Regions from separate parts of the Homo sapiens genome. Here region 1 is linked to region 2. The links are contacts of gene promoters, found by promoter capture Hi-C in blood cells and fetal thymus (Javierre and others, 2016). All regions are on one chromosome and are shown on one strand. Each heading gives the region's core, a stretch centred on a gene start or on the middle of the fragment in contact. The rest is flanking DNA. Distances are from core to core; before and after follow the strand shown.

Region 1 (5,284 bases), core at 1,100-3,599, 540 kb after region 2:
CAGAGGACCTGGCTGAGGCTGGGGAGGCTGTGGTGGCGGCGGAGGCGGCTGTGGTGGCTGCTGCTGCTGTTGCTGCTGCAACTTCTTCTTGTTGATTTTCCTCTCCTTTGCTCTGCGGTTCTGAAACCAGATTTTAACCTAGAAATGGAAAGGTGGAGAAAAGCACATTGTGGTGAAGATGTGAGGGAAAAGAGGAACAGTACCCAGCAGTATCATCAACATCTTCTGCTCCAGCTACAGAACTCCAAGTCCTTCTAGAAGCTTTCCTCGGGCATCCCCATAACAGCCCAACCCTGGATCCATTCTTAGGCCCAATTCAGCCTCATGGGGAAGAGTCTTCCTCCTTCCTTGCTCCCTGAGTTTCTTTTCAAAGCAACTTTTATCTACGTATTTACTGCAAAAGTTTAAAGTCTCAGAACCAAGGAAAACTGAAACTGCAAGGCCCTTTCTACACAGCAAAGGGAGGCCAGTGCTGGGTGGTATACTTCAAATGGCAACCTTTGGCCCCTCAAGGCTAAACTAAAACGTAATTTTCCTCACCTTAGAGCTGAAAATGAGATTTAATTTTGTGGCTTCCTGGCTGTGAAGTTGGCCTGTTTTTCTAGACTATATATATAAAATGTTCATGAACCAAGTCTTGTCCCTCTAGTTTTTGTGAGAGACTGAGTACTTTATTCAGTTTATTTTCTTAGGTACAGTGCTGGAAACAAAGAGAATAGGTCTTTAATATGTCTTTATAGACCCAAATGGAATTCTGGATTAAACTAATACCCTTGGCTGTTTTTCACACTTCTTATATCCCTCAAAAGAGAGAGACAGAAAAAATCAACAACATCAAAAAAAGAGGACTAAAGGTAGAAGGAGGCTTTTTAAAAAAGTACTCCAGGGCCAGGCACAGTGGCTCACACCTGTAATCTCAGCACTTTGGGAGGCCGAGGCGGGTGGATCACCTGAGGCCAGGAGTTCGAGACTAGCCTGACTAACATGGAGAAACCGCATTTCTACTAAAAATACAAAATTAGCCGGGCGTGGTGGCACATGCCTGTAGTCCCAGCTATTTGGGAGGCTGAAGCAGGAGAATCGCTTGAACCCGGGAGGCAGAGGTTGCAGTGAGCTGAGACCGCGCCATTGCACTTCAGCCTGCACAACAAGAGTGAAACTGCGTTTCGACGGTGGCGGGTGGGGGGGCATGTACTCCAGGCCAGGCATGGTGGTTCACACCGGTAATCTCAGCACTTTAGGAGTCCAAGACAGGAGGAGCATTTGGAGTTTGAGACCAACCTGGGTAAGACAGTGAGACCATCTCTGCAAAAAATTTAAACATTAGCCAGTCATGGTGGCTCGAGCCTGTAGTCCAAGCTACTCAGGTGACTGAGGCAGGAGGATCCCTTCAGCTCAGGAAGTCAGGGCTGCAGTGAGCTATGATTGTGCCACTACACTCCAGCCTGGGCCACAAAGCAAGACCCCATCTCTGTTTAAAAAAAAAAAAAAAAAAAAAAAGGACTCCAAAGACGAATGCTTGCATCCTCCTGCTTCAGTCTCTCCACAGATTTAGATGGCCCCTGCAGCCAGATTTTCTAACTCTCATGGTCCTCTGCCAGGCAGTGGCCCGCCCGGAGGGAGCTAGGCGGTCCCCACCTGCCTCTCAGAGAGCCCCAGCGTGGCGGCTAGCTCGGCTTTCCTCCGGATGGTGATGTAGCGACTGTAGTGAAACTCCTTCTCCAGCTCCAGCCGCTGGTGGTCCGTGTACACCACTCGATATTTGTCTTTCGTCCTGGTTTTCACTGTGGAGGAAGGAGAAGTGAGGGCTGAGAACTGCAAGGCAGCCCATCAGTCATGGGTAATGACAAACCTCCCTAACCCAGGGACATTTCTCTTCCTCCACCACCCTGGGGGGCCCGGGTTTGGCTGGTTCCTGCCAAGTCTGACAAGACCCCCCAGAGGGTCCTGTGGGGGGAGGGTATGAGGCTAGTGGAGGCAACTAAACTAACCTTGGTATTAAGTGGTTTTTAAAAATTAAGGAAAGTGAAAACCTCATTCACACAGAAGACAGCAGAATGTAACCACCCTTTCGGTAAACCAAATACAGTACTGGCATATATTTGACACCAAGGGAAAGGGGGCAGGGTGAAGTGGCCGGGATCCTGGAAGCATCCAGATTTCCAGGCCTACCAGAGATGGAAGCCCACCCCGAAAACAGCTGTCATTGTGGGCACATGTTGTAGAGGGGGTGTGGGGGTTACTACTTTGCTTTACTACAAGTGGAAAGCGGGGCTCAGGAGCTGACAAGTCGCCAGAATCATCCCCCAGACACACCAGGCCCATCAGGTGGAATTCTGAGCTGGGCTCTGGCCGAGGGAACAGGCAGAAAACCCCTCCTGCTGGGGACACTTTATACCTGCCCAGACCAGGTTTGGCGTTTGGTACTTTTTCTTTTTTGATCCTCCATTTATTCCTGCTGCAAATCCGGCCAGAGTTATCCTGACCAGTGATCTATGCTCATTGGATTGAGTCAACATATTAAATCCCAGATTGATTGTTTTACTGAAGGGCCTTGACAAATAGTGTCCACAATGTTGGAGCAGGCCCGAGCCTGGCGTCTCCACCAGGTCTGTCTTGGCTCAGCCCTTGGCAGAGCCCTGGCCAGAAGCTGTTCTCTCTGGCTCCGTCCCACTTTTGGGTCTTCTTGCAGCTGAACAGGTTCAATCGCCCAGTGCCCAATCCCACAGAAAGATCTGAAGGGCCTGGGAGTTGCCTGGAGGTGTTTAATGCCCCGCAGGCTGACTTTGTTCAGGTAAAACCCTTTGCAAACCACAACAAAAGCGTCCTGGGAAGATACAGGCCTGATCAGAGGGAGCTCCCCCGAGCCGCTGAAAGGCCAACACAGCCGCAAACAATGCAGGACAAGGCGATCTTATCAAAGAAAAGCCCTTTCAATGCCTTAATAACAACCACATTCTGTTTGAATTACCACTACTGAGCAAATGGCGGCCCCGGCTTTCATCCCCCTCCCCGCCAGGCGCATTAACATAAACACGACCCTGCAGGCGCATTTGAATGGGGCTGCGGCCCCGACCCCGCGCCTGCTATGAAAGTAAAGGGAACTAACGCGACTTTCTCCGCGGTGGACGCTCGGACACGCGTGACCGCCTCAAACCCACTCCAGGCTGCCATTGGTACTCGCCCCTTTTTACAGATGAGGAAATGGAGAATCAGACCGGGTCACGCAGATAGTATCAGGCGGGGTTGGCACCGGAGCCTGGCTGGAGCCACAGAGGACACCTCCGGAGCTGAGGCGCAGGGCAGTTCCCTCAGCCGAACACCCCGGGAGGGAGACTCGCCTGGAAGTGTCTCGGAGCGACCCTTGCTCGGGTGCTGCCCCTTCAGTGTCCCGGACGTGCCGGGCAACGCGATGACCAGACCCTGAGCGCTCTTCGACCCATGCCCCAAGGGCCTTGGAGGCGCCCCACACCCCCTGGGAACCTAGGAGCGGGGCTATGGAGGGGAGGGATGAGAGGGACTTGTCAGAATTCATTATTGACTGCGAAAGTCACCACCCTCTTTCCGGGCCCTAAAAGAGACAATGGCAGGGCTGGGAAGGTGTATATCAAAGCAAGCCAGGCCGCGTCCCCCCCTCCACCCCCACACCTTGACAGATGACGCTCCGCAGAGGAGCCCGGCTCCGGCCCGCGGGCTGCGGCCACCCCACATTAACATCACAAGGGCACCCGGCGCCGACTGCGGCCTTGCCACCTCGGCGCAGGACTTCACAGCGGCCTCTCATCTGCTGACCCCGCGGCCTGGGCTCTGGCGGCTTCCCTCCCGCCCCCTTCCCGGCCCTCACCCCGCGGCCGCTCTCCCGGGACACGCAAAGGTCTTCCTTAGGGCGTGCGCCACCCCCGCCAACCGCGCCCCAGACAGGGGCTGTAGAAAGTGGGTCTTTGGGAGCCAGGATCTGGGAGCCCCTGCTAGGAGAAAGGCGCCTCCTCTAGGAGAAGGGACCAAGCCAAAGCTCTGAGGCTCACCCGAGGCTGATCTGTGGCCTTCTCCCCGGTCGGCGGCATTCCCACCAGGACTCTCCCTAGCATGTGCACAGTGACGCAGAAACCGATGCCCAGAGACAGCCCCCAAAGGGCGCTTTGATTTATACAGTTGTAATTGGCTATAAACTTCTGCAAAGTGCCCATAACCAGCGTGCCTGCCCAATTGGGGCATCAAGGAGCGAAGCAAGAAAAGCGGAAGCGCTGAGGGCTGGGGAAAGACTTTAAAAGGGGCACTCAACTAGGACTCTCCCCACCGCACTTCCTTGCCACCTCTAGGCACACTCGAACACCAGAAGGGGCAGACCCAGAGTCAATGAGCCCCACAGTCCGGCAAACCTAGGATCTTTTTCAGTTGCACACACACACTCACAGACATCCCTGACACCCTTGAAAGGAAGCTTTGGGAGAAATGACCCCTACCTGGAGCGGCGGCTTAATTCCCACCAGGGTTTCCTCCCCGTCTCCCTGCTCTCTCCGCAGACGCCTGCCCCTAGGCTTCTTGCCCCTAGCCTTCCAGCTTTTGCTTGAAATGACCCCTTCACAGGTCAGAGGTTCAGAGACGGGGCGCGCCCCCGTCGCCTTAGCAGCTGGGGCTAGCACCTTCTTCCCAGCGACAGCAGCTCTCCCTGGTCTGCCTGCTCGCTGTACCTTGAATTGGCCCGAGTGGCCAAACCCGGTCCCACACACAGCCTAGCCATCCTCCGACCCCCCCAGGTCACTTCTCTTCTTAGATGGCTCAGATGGGGAAAGAGAGAGCGGAGATAAATGGCCTAGACCTAGCCCAAGAAGGTTCGAGCCTCCCTCTCTCCTCGGCGGCCAGGAGCCACGCAAGGAATGCATGCCGCAGCAAGTGCCGGAGGACGCGATTCTGCCGGCGTCCAGCAGTGCTCACGCCGACATTCCCCGGAGCTTCCCGAAGGTGTCCCGGGGTTGCGAATGAGGAGCTCTTGGAAAGAGGACGCCTGAACACGGTGTTGAGACTCAGAATATTCACTCCCAGGCTCAGTAGGTCAGAGAAGCCCCGACGGGCCAGAGGCCCCCGAATTTGTCTCCGGGCCGTGCCCCTCCTGGCGCCGAGCTCCCAGACAGCCCGGGACGCCCCTGTGCGCACTGGACGCGCGACGCGCAGCAGCCACTGGCTCGACCCGCGCCTTCCCAAGCACCCTCCGAAGGGGCGCAGCCTCTGCTTACCTTGGCTGCCGAGGGACTGCTGCGCCGGCTTCCGCATCCACTCGCACAGG
Region 2 (4,907 bases), core at 1-2,500:
GAACTGGCGCAAGAGAAACCATTTTAGAATTCCGGAGTTGTGGGAGGGATGAGTGTAGAATTCTCCCATCCATGGACAGGGGCTAGAGTGGCAAATGAAGAAAGCAACAGGTGGACCCAAGGCATAGACACTCTCACAGCCCCGTTATCTTGAGACGGAGGATGACACAGGCGTTATCAACTTTCCCACTTTCAAGATGAGCAGACTGAGGCAAAGGAGTGTTTATGAACTGGAATACTCAGTTCATAAGCACTGATGTTAAGCCCTGGCTTGTTTCCAGAACTGCACTGCTGTGCAGGGACCTGTTCATCACATTCCGACAAGGGCTTAATGATTCGGAATAATGCAGGATGTGAAAAATATGGATCTGGCGAACATCCCCCAAGTCATCCTGCCAGTTATCTGTATCCAAGGACATTTTTTAGGCATGTGGTCCTCATAAACTAAGATACTCATATTCATTCAGGCCTCTCAAAAGTGCTTCTCAGGTTTTGATATGCACTGAATCACCTGGAGATTTGTTTCAAGTAGGTCATCAAGGCTCTAGGGCAGTGTTCCCAAACTTTTCCTTTTTTTTTTTTTTTTTTTCCAACCACCTGGTCAGTTTGCCGGGGTGGGGAAGGGTAGGATGGGGAGACATCTGTATTTATTCTTTTAGAGCTCGGGGTCTCACTCTGGGCTCAAGCGATTCGCCCGCGTACCTGGGACTACAGGTGCGCACTACTGTGCCAGGATAGTGGTTCCCAAACTTTTCTGCGCATTGAAATCACCTAGGAAGTTTCCAAAAATACTGATGCCTGTTTCCTACCCCCAGAAATTGTGATTTAAGTGGTCCAAGTATCCTCTAGGCTTCGGGATTTTGTAAAGCTCTCCACGTGAATCTGAGCTTAGGAACCTCTGAACTGGGGCTTGCAGCAGAAGCACGTAAAGCACGCAAAGAAACGAAACCACACAGGTCACACTAGTAATGTGGCAACAGGCTAACTTAAATTATGTAAGGCTAGTGCTTTCCAGAGTGTACTGGAGGACGGGAAACAAGCCCCATTTAAGCAGTGCCTCGGGATTTGAGTTGCCTGTGAAACGCAGCAGCCTTCTGCCGAGGACGCAGAAACCCCCGCCTCTCATCCAGGGCTGACAGGGCACGGGCCGCGAGCCGCGGCGGGGCCTCCTGGCGCATGCGCGATCTCCCGGAGCATGCGCAGCAGCGGCGCCGACGCGGGGCGGTGCCTGGTGACCGCGCGCGCTCCCGGAAGTGTGCCGGCGTCGCGCGAAGGTTCAGCAGGGAGCCGTGGGCCGGGCGCGCCGGTTCCCGGCACGTGTCTCGGCACGTGGCAGCGCGCCTGGCCCTGGGCTTGGAGGCGCCGGCGCCCTGGATCCGCCGGCCGTGGTCGCCGAGTCGGTGTCGTCCTTGACCATCGCCGACGCGTTCATTGCAGCCGGCGAGAGCTCAGCTCCGACCCCGCCGCGCCCCGCGCTTCCCAGGAGGTTCATCTGCTCCTTCCCTGACTGCAGCGCCAATTACAGCAAAGCCTGGAAGCTTGACGCGCACCTGTGCAAGCACACGGGGGAGGTGAGGGGGGCGAGGCTGCCAACCCTGGGCCTAGGGATGGCGCGTGGCCCCGGGGTAGCCACTGCAGTCGTGGCCAGGGCCGCAGGCCCCGCTGTGCAGCGCGTTCAGCTTTGACATCCAGGACTTGGGGAAGGAGCTGAGGAAGTAGACAGGAAGTTGTAGGACCTTCGTTCTGCGACCTTGATATCCATGGCAGGGGCTCGGGATTTACTAAGCAGTCATTGATCGTGAGTCTCGGCCAGCCAAGTGCCTCCCGTAATCTGCAAATAAGTGTGAGGTTTGAGGGGGCCCACCGCTACTAGACACCTGCCAAACACTGGCCCCTGGAGCTGGTACAGAAGATGGGTTACATGTACCAGGGGTCGTGAAAGCAGCATGTGCTCATTTCTTCGTAACTCCACACTGGAGAGAGCAGTGAGCAAAACAGGCAAACCCAAGGTTTCTGCTGCCATGGACCTTTGTTCCTGGGTCGAGCCGACCACAGGATAGGTGGGAATGACATGCAGTGTTGTGGTCAGGAAAGGCCTCTCTGTGTGAGCCGTGTAAGAAGGAAGGATCTAGCCATGCAGACATTTGTGCTAGGTAGAGAGAACACAAAGGGAGCCTGTGACCCTTGGGGTGGGAGGCAGGTGGGTGTGTTTGGGTGCGGAGATCACCATATGAGGTCTGAGAAGTAGGCCCATTAGGAGTTTGGATTTTATTTTGAGGGCAGGAGAATGTCAGATACCATGATATGACGTGGCAGCCCATGTCACACACAAGTGAGGAAAACGAGGGTCATGGAGGTCAAGGAATCTGCCCAGCTTCCCAGTTTTTGGCAGAGCTAGGCTTCACACTGCCTCAGCTTAAAGCCCTTAATTTCTTAAACCACTGGGCTGCAGTCCATACCTTTGCCCCTTGCACCTCCTCTAATTTATGGGCCACCTTCTCCAGGTGTCCTCCGGGGCCTCATTCCTTAACCTCTCCAGCACTGGAAGGCCGACCGCTTCTTCCTTGAGACCTTCTCTGGTTCTTTTCCTCTTCCTCGTCTGCCCTTTTCGTTGGATCCTCTTCTGCCCTCTGCATGTTCCACCCCGCCCAGCTCCCTCTTGCGGTCTTACATAGCCACCGGCATGACTCATAACATCCTTTATGCTTTGCCCCTCTGCCCTTCCTCTTGCCCGTTCTAGCCTCTAAATTCTGGGCTCTGTATTACCAGTAGATCCACGTAAGAGCTTGCCTTTCCTTTTAGACCGGTGTGCTGTATTTTGGATACTGGCGCTACCAGTTTCCTTAATACAGGTTGAAAAACTTGGAGTCATCTTTGTTGTCCCAGATCTCTCATGCAGATTAATTTGACAAATGTTTATTGAGCCTACTCCACGCCTGCCGCTGTGCAAGGTTCTGTGGCTCCGCCCCTGGTGGTATGTAGCTCACTGTGTTCCTGTTTGCTTGTTTTGCTCCTAGTACTCTCATGGAGGCCTCGGTGCCTCCCTCCTGGACGCCTTGGTAGTATGCTTTTCATAGTTTGATGCACCAAACTGGTTATTTGGTTATTTGGGGTGTGTGTTTGGCTTTTACTATAGGTTCAAAATGAGTCACCCCCTCCCAACTCCTGGGTTACAAAAGGTGGTTGCATTTAGGGTGTTGAGCTGTTTTCTTTGCTTCGCCCTGGCACCTGTGAGCTTTTTCAGGTGTGACACACTTTCCTATAGCTGTGCTTGGCATTATCCTAGCACAGACCCTGGGCTTGTCTGGGATGAGACAGGCCTCCCTCGTTCCTCTGCCCTAGGCTTGCTTTTTTACATGTTAAATCATGCGGTGGTGGGGATCCATGCAGACAAGCCATGCTAACAGCCAGGGCGTCTTTAAGAGGGGGTTGCTGTGAAAGCCTGCTGCCGGGTTGGGAGCAGGTTAAAAATGCTATGCCTGCTTATTTTAAATGCTGTTCATGGAACAAAAATCTGTGTAGTGACTTTGTGAGAAGTTGTGATGTTTATGTTGTGTAACTTTGTGCAGGAACACTGCGTCTTGCAGTGGGTGCACAGCTCTGAGTAGAAACCACCTCTTCATAGGAAGCCTGTGGCCTTAACACTAGGCAGTTTAAGCTTTTAAATAATACCAGAGTTACTAACTAGTGCAGAAGTGACATGCTTTTTCTTTTTTCCTGCTAGAGACCATTTGTTTGTGACTATGAAGGGTGTGGCAAGGCCTTCATCAGGGACTACCATCTGAGCCGCCACATTCTGACTCACACAGGAGAAAAGCCGTTTGTGTAAGTAGAGACCTGTTTTTAGGCTTTTGAAGTGGGTTGTGTTGGGCATATAGACCCAGTAAGAAGATTGATGTTAACTCACGAGATCAGGAATGTGAAGCCTGGCAGGGCTCGGTGGCTCATGCCTGTAATCCCAGCACTTTGGGAGGCGGAGATGGGCAGATCACTTGAACCCAGGAGTTTGAGACAAACCTGGGCAACATGGTGAAACCCCGTATGTACAAAAATACAAAAATTAGTCAGGGATGGTGGTTTGTGCCTGTAATCCTAGCTACCCAGGAGGCTGAGCTAACATAAAATGCTCATGGGTGGGGACAAGCTAAAGTATATCAACACAATGGGATACCCTACAGCCAGGAAAATGAATGCAGATGCTCTCTGCAAAGCCATGAGAAAATCACCAGGGCACTTTAATTGAAAAACCAAGGTGCAGAAGAGTCCTCTTTAGGCTACTTTTATGTGTGTAAAAAAGCTAGGGGGTAGGGGGAGGGGTGAGTAGTGGGTGTTGGGTAGGCAGGAAGCAACTATATTTGTATTTGTTCCTATTTGTAAAGAAGTCTTAAAAGTTACATAACAAAACTAAAAATGTCATCTGTTTTGGGAGCAGTGGGGGATCCTGGCCAAGTAGGGGGTGGGGATGGTAGGAAATGCCATGCAACCAGGAACTACTGGACATGACTCTTCCAGCTCATGATCTAACCCAGACCCTGCCCCTCTTTAGCTGTAGTTCCCCGTTTCCCACTGCTCGCTGGACAGTGCTACTTGGCTATCTCTGTGTCTTCTTAAATTCCATGTGGTAGGCTGGGTGTGGTGGCTCATGCCTGTAATCCCAGCACTTTGAGAGGCTGAGGTGGGAGGATTGCTTTGAGGCCAGGAGTTCAGGCTGGGCAAGATGGTCAGGTCCATCTCTATTAAAGAAATAAATAAATAAAAAATTCCACATGGCCCAAATTTGTCACAGTCAAACTGAGCTCACTTTTCTGTTTGATCTTCTCTCATGTTCTTGTCTGGAGAGGTGGCCTCGCTGTCTGTCCAGTGACCCATAGCAAAGATAAGGCAGCTCCCTGGACTCTCCATTCTTTC

The links. Contacts are between HindIII fragments. The CHiCAGO score rates a contact against its expected background, and 5 or more counts as called.
Region 1: a fragment that was not itself captured here is called in contact with the fragment with the promoter of GTF3A in region 2 in 6 of 17 cell types (erythroblasts, M0 macrophages, M1 macrophages and 3 more); the score reaches 7.4 in erythroblasts.

The regions. Positions count from the first base shown.
Region 1 is chr13:27,963,232-27,968,515 of GRCh38, forward strand. It overlaps CDX2 (caudal type homeobox 2), which reads right to left. Exons shown (of 3, transcript NM_001265.6): 1 at 5,235-5,284; 2 at 1,639-1,784; 3 at 1-138. Among named protein-coding and RNA genes, the nearest start is that of CDX2, 3.4 kb to the right of the region's middle. RefSeq lists enhancers at 2,551-3,242, 3,243-3,934. The HindIII fragment of the contact is 4,180 bases long and covers 260-4,439 here.
Region 2 is chr13:27,423,369-27,428,275 of GRCh38, forward strand. It overlaps GTF3A (general transcription factor IIIA), which reads left to right and starts at 1,251. Exons shown (of 9, transcript NM_002097.3): 1 at 1,251-1,570; 2 at 3,724-3,824. The coding sequence starts at 1,370. RefSeq lists silencers at 1,076-1,345, 1,356-1,415, 1,516-1,595, 4,669-4,907 and enhancers at 1,686-1,755, 2,706-2,925. The HindIII fragment of the contact is 2,756 bases long and covers 1-1,535 here.